2 separate regions of the Homo sapiens genome follow, and region 1 is linked to region 2. Evidence: promoter capture Hi-C in human tissues and cell types (Jung and others, 2019). All regions are on one chromosome and are shown on one strand. Each heading gives the region's core, a stretch centred on a gene start or on the middle of the fragment in contact. The rest is flanking DNA. Distances are from core to core; before and after follow the strand shown. Region 1 overlaps DDX4 (DEAD-box helicase 4). Region 2 holds the start of DDX4 (DEAD-box helicase 4).

Region 1 (2,978 bases), core at 114-2,613, 50 kb after region 2:
GTTTTTTGAGCTTTGGTTCTTCCTTAGTAACTTGGTTTCTTCTTTTGAGTAGAAGGTTTGTAGATGGTTTCAGTTACCTGTCATAAGTATTGATGGTTTTGCTTCTGATTTTTATTAGGATTTGTGTACTTCGGAAGAAAGAATTCTGAACTATTCCTGGGGTGGTGTTGCTGTCCATAGATGTTTAATCTTTTCTGTGTGCAGCTCTTTCTGAAACATGGTAGTATCTTAAACAAAGTGACTGAAAGTCAAAGCAGAGCTTATAAAACAGAGAGGGAGAAAGTAATTTCTGTATTATAGCTGGTACACTCGAAGTCAAAAGATTAAAGAATGAGAAACAGTTATGCATTGTGCATGATTCCTTAGTATTCAGTGACCTCAGGTTATGCTAATTATAAAAGAAGTCTGATGAAACCAGTTGGTTTTAGGACTAATCTGGGAGATTTGTGTGTTAATTAACGACTCCATAAGATGAGACTCTTATTTCTATGATCATAGAGTCCATGAGGTCATACCATTTTAGTCTTAATCAGCCTTCATAGTAGAATTGTAGGGAAAAACAGGTATTGTATAGCAGCTGATGAGAGTGTTAAACGTGGTTTTGGAGGTGGATTTTAGCAAGTGTCTTATTTGCTTAAATGAGAAAACTGTAGCACAAAATTTCTGTTGCCAGATGTAACTTCAATAAGGGTAATGTGTTCAGTAATACAGATGATGATTTCTAAGTTTTTACTCTGTGGGCCACTTTTGTCATCCATTCTGAATGATAATTTTATGACCTCAAAAGGACTAACTTAGAGTAATTGTTCACTGTAATGATTTGCAGCGATTACATCTATCATATTCCTCTATAAATATGCTAATGTTGTTGATCTGTTTAGAATTCGTGGGTATGCTTTTGAAAATACACTGAAAAACTTTGATAGGTTAGATTAATTTTACCAAATTTTATATTGTATAATAAGAGCATAAAGACATAAATGTTAAGAACACCTTGAAATGAAAGTTGTTTTCATTTCTCATCTTAAATTTACCAGTAAGATGGAAGTAGAGTCTAAAGGCTATAAGGACATGAGGATTAGCTTTCCATAGGGATAAAAGTGTTGTGCTATAAGTTTGTAAACTAAGCAACTTAACTTCTAGGCGGCTTTTCTCCTACCAATTTTGGCTCATATGATGCATGATGGAATAACTGCCAGTCGTTTTAAAGAGTTGCAGGAACCAGAGTGTATTATTGTAGCACCAACTCGAGAATTGGTCAACCAGATTTATTTGGAAGCCAGAAAATTTTCTTTTGGGTAAGTACATCAGAGTGCTACTCACAAAATAGTTTTTTCTTTAGAGATTTTTTTCCCCTCACTTTTGGAAGAACTCAGTAATAATGCACTCATGTAATTTTTAGCATTACTTAAAGTATTTTTTTATTATCTTGTTTATGGAATCCTTTTCATTTTTGAAAAGAAATATGCTTATTAAAAATTAGGTTAATAGGTTGGACTTGGTGGCTCATGACTATAATCCCAGTGCTTTGTGAGGCCCAGGCAGGCAGACTGCTTGAGGCCAGGAGTTCGAGACCAGCCAGGGTAACATGGCAAGACCCCATCTCTACAAAAAATAAAATAACTAGCCAGCATGTGGTGATGCACACCTGTTGTCCTAGGAGTTTAGGAGGTTGAGGCAGAAGGATTGTTTGAGTCCAGGAGTTTGAGGCTGCAGTGAACTGTGATTGCACCACCACACTCAGAGCGAGACCCTGTCTCCAAAAAAGTAAAATTTTAATTTAAAAAACAGATAATACTAGAAGTAGAAAATAGTGAACATACTGGTATTATTTCTTGGTAGTTTTTAATGTATATTTAAAAATGAACTCAGGGTATTCTAATAATTTCCTATTCTTTTACATAAAACTTTATAACACAGAAAATTCTTATTTCATAATAAGAACTGATTTTTAATGACTTTTAAATTGCCCATGTGTATACATTTTATTTCTCTGTTCTGAGGTATTTAGGTTCTTTCTAACTTGGGGCTATTGTAAACAAAATTGCAATGTACATCTTGCTACATAGTTTTTCTGTTTTGGCCAGATATGATGTCTTACACCTGTAATCCTAGCACTTTGGGAGGCCAAGATGGGCAGATAGCTTGAGCCCAGGAGTTCAAGACCAGCCTGGAAAACATGGTGAAAACCCATCTCTACAAAAAAGAACAAAAACTAGCTAGGTGCAGTGGTGCACCCCTGTAGTCCCAGCTACTTGGGAGCCTGAGAGATTACCTGAGCCTGGGAGGTCGAGGCTGCAGTGAGCTGTGATTGCGCCACTGCATTCCAGCCTAGATGACAGTGAGACCTTGACTTATATATAAAAAAAACCAACAGTTTTCTGTTTTAAGTATTTTCTTAGAATAGAGTTTTATCAATTTTAATGTTAAAGAGCAGGAACTTATTTTAAAGCTTGTAATTAATGTATATTTGTGCCTGCAGTCTATCAGAAGTCCAATTTCAGTATACCCTTTGCCAACATTTAGTTATCGCTGCCTAACAAACTCCCTTAAAACATAGTTGCTTTCAACAATAAACATTTACTGTCTCACCATTTTGGGGGCTTAGGAATTGGGGAACAGCTTGGCTTAGCTGGGTCCTTCTGAGTTAAGAGTTTCTTATGAGATTGTAAACGAGATGTCAACCAATTCTGGTTTTATTGTCAACCAGACAAGATGTCAAGGCAGTCATCTGAGGGCTTCATTGGATCTCTCCATAGGGATGCATGATTAAATGGCACTGGCTTCCCCTAGATTAAGTGATCAGTAAGAACAAAGAGGAGGCTGTAATAGCTTTTATGAAATAGTCCCAGAAGTCACACATTGTCCTTCTGCCACATTCTCTTTGTAAGAAGCAAGTCACTAAGTTTGACCCCACTCAGGAGTGGCTATATTATAATTTATTGGAACTAGTGCAAAATTGAAAGTGCAGGGTCCTT
Region 2 (3,185 bases), core at 594-3,093:
CACTCCCCTCTGGGTGACAGAGTGAGACCTTGTCTCAAAAATAAATAAATAAATAAATAAAAAATATATTCATTTTGATCATCTTGAGAATAGTCTGACAAAGTTTATTGCTAACTAGATGAATCCTGAAATTCTTGGTGGTGATGGTTCTAGAGATAAAAAGTATGAAGCAAGCCTGAGCCTATTAAGTGCTTTATCCTTTATGTACCAGTATCAAACTGTGTTGCTATTTATGTTCCTGAATGAGATAGGAATTTCTTCAGATTCAGAGAAGGGAAAATGACAGAAACGACAACAAAAATGAGAACTACACTTTTTTTTTTTTTTTTTTTTTTTGAGGCGGAGTCTCGGTCTGAGGCCCAGGCTGGAGTGCAGTCGCGCGATCTCGGCTCACTGCAAGCTCCGTCTCCCGGGTTCACGCCATTCTCCTGCCTCAACCTCTGGAGTAGCTGGGACTACAGGCGCCCGCCACCACGCCCGGCTAATTTTTTGTATTTTTAGTAGAGACGGGGTTTCGCCGTGTTAGCCAGGATGGTTGCATCTCCTGACCTCGTGATCCGCCCGCTTCGGCCTCCCCAAGTGCTGGGATTACAGACAGACGTAAGCCACCGCGCCCGGCCTCTGAGAACTACACTTTTAAAACAGCCCATGGTCACGCGTTTTGAAGGGCTGGGGAAATACTGAGGGATTTTACCTGCTTTTGGGGTGGGGGGTGGGGGCAGAACAAGAAAATCTGATTGAAGACAGCATGAAGTATCAAAATAACCCTTGGCCACTTTGGCTAGTGCCCGTAGGAATATAAACAGGTGGGCCACAAATCCAAGCCTTGATGAATGACCTATGCCAGCACCAATTTCCTCCCTCCTTCTGGATCAGAGCCTGTTTCCTTCCAAAGTGGTGGACCCCCGAAATCTTACAGGCTTTTTTTTTTTTTTTTTTTTCCTCTGTCTCACTCTGTCGCCCAGGTAGAGATCAATGGCATGATCTCGGTTCATTGCAACCTCTGCCTCCCGGGTTCAAGCGGTTCTCTTGCCTCAGCCTCCTGAGTAGCTGGGACTACAGGCAGCCGCCACCATACCCGGCTAATTTTTTTAATTTTAGTAGAGACGGGGTTTCACCATGTTGGCTAGGCTGGTCTCGAACTCCTAGCCTCATGTGATCCGCCCGCCTCGGCCTCCCAAAGTGCTGGGATTACAGGCGTGAGTCACCATGCCCAGCCGAGTCTAACTTTCTTTACGATTTCCTGGGGTCCCAGCTGGACGGAGTCTCATCCCTGCCCCCCTTACTGGGAGGAAAAGGGAATGCACCTCCTCCATGAGCCTCAGCTGCACTTTGAGGCACCTGGAATCCCCGGATGTGGAGCGAGTCTCTGAAATGCAGAACCCGAGGGGCCAACCCATGGACTGTGATGGGTAAAAGGGGAGAGAGCACTAAAGAGGCCAAGTAGGGAGGACATTATCCCTTTCCCCTTTTATTATTATTTTTTGTTAGAAAAAGGCAGGTGGACATATTTAGCTTGCGAAGCTTGCACAAGGAAAATCCAGAGCGTCTCCAGAATAAGGATCCCACGAGAGAACGTGGACACAAGTAGGCCCTCAGCCAGCCTTGTACCCACAGGCCCAACAGGCCACTTGGCTATGAGGCCAGAGCGTCGCCATAGGGGCCCGAACGCTAGCGTTTAGGGAATCCGCAGGCTAGAAGTGGAGGCGGGACGCCACTGGTCGTCTGAGCGCTGATTGGCTGGTGGCGCTAGTCACCAGCCAATCGTCAACAGACGCCATTTGTTGTTGGAGCCACGCACCTGACGCAGTGGGCGTCTTGCACGTGCAGCCGTTTAAGTCGCGTGGGCGCCTGCGAGGGCTTGGGAGAGCAAGCCGCGGAGAGGTGAGTGGGCCGCTTTTCTACGGGAACTGGCCTGAACTCGGCCGTACGGGCTCCCCAGTAACCGACCTTTGGCCAAAGTGTGGATGGAGTAGGAGGAGTTTTGAAGCCGTCCTTCGAAGCCTTTCTGCCTCGGGGTCTCAGAGTCCCACGGGTGCCCAAAGTCTGGGCTTGAGGCCTGCAGAGGAGGCGAAGGGGCCTTATTCCTGGCTTCTTCACTGCGTTTTCTCTGAACAGACATGGTCCGAGTACCATTTGTGTACAAATCCTTCTTGATGAAGCTGGTTGTCCTTTGTCGGCAGGATTTGGGCAACCATACCCTTCTTCCCTTCCCCACTAAAATCCAAGGCCTCCCTCTTCACCGAGTCGCCGCCCCCCTACCCAGTCGACTCCCGTACCCCTGTCCCCGCCCCCACGCACGCCACAAACACCCCAAAGCAAACATCCTATCCACCTTGGATGTTAATCATGCGAAGGGAGAAATCTTAAGTAGTTTCTGAAAAAAGTTGCCTCTCCCTTAATATTCAGTAAGTCGTTTGGGGACCCTTTGAGGGAGGAGATAAAGTCTATGAACAGATGTTTGGGAAAAGCCTAAGTCTTGCTGGGGACATGGCGATTGCTAGAATGACTAGGTAAGAGGTTCAACTAGTTTCTAAAGCTAAGAAAGGATGGAGATAAATGCCACCTTTAGATAAGAAGAGACCTAATTCCTTCTTTGGAAAAAACTTTTGGGGTATCAGCACCTAGTTGGGTAGTTTCAAGATGTATGTGAAACAATGAGTTTATGCTTTTAAAGTTATGATTCTGATCTAATTGAGTCCAAATGTGCATTTTTTTTTTTTTATGAATAGAACTTGAAGCCACCATGGGAGATGAAGATTGGGAAGCAGAAATCAACCCTCATATGTCTTCCTATGTTCCCATATTTGAGAAGGTAATAACATTTAAAGTTTAGTTATTAAATGCTACGGATTTTATCAAAGTTGAAAATCACTGTGGTGAGAGTTCTAAATTATACAGTCTGTGTCAGTGTTTATCTCCATGTGATTGTTATTAACTATTATATGGGGAATAAGAGACAACCTAAGCCTCGTATAGGATACAATAGCTTGAGGCAATTTGATAATTAAAAGCTAAAATAGATGTAAAAATATTAATGACCTAATTTAAATCTCAATGATTTAGGACTTCCTCAGGTGAAAGCAAACTTGGGCAAATGTGGTTGATATCAGTGAAAGACGCTTGTATGGAAAATTGAAAACAATAATTACGTTTTGGGAGATATTTTAAATTCTGAAAATTGA

The links. The method cuts DNA at HindIII sites, captures the fragments that hold promoters and counts their contacts. A contact is called where the count stands out against the background at its distance.
Region 1: a fragment that was not itself captured here is called in contact with the fragment with the promoter of DDX4 in region 2 in 1 of the 25 tissues and cell types used here (pancreas).

What each region holds. Positions count from the first base shown.
Region 1 is chr5:55,786,703-55,789,680 of GRCh38, forward strand. It overlaps DDX4 (DEAD-box helicase 4), which reads left to right. Exons shown (of 22, transcript NM_024415.3): 15 at 1,144-1,298. Among named protein-coding and RNA genes, the nearest start is that of DDX4, 50 kb to the left of the region's middle. The HindIII fragment of the contact is 6,379 bases long and covers 1-2,978 here.
Region 2 is chr5:55,736,218-55,739,402 of GRCh38, forward strand. DDX4 (DEAD-box helicase 4) reads left to right here and starts at 1,844. Exons shown (of 22, transcript NM_024415.3): 1 at 1,844-1,884; 2 at 2,733-2,815. The coding sequence starts at 2,747. The HindIII fragment of the contact is 12,969 bases long and covers 11-3,185 here.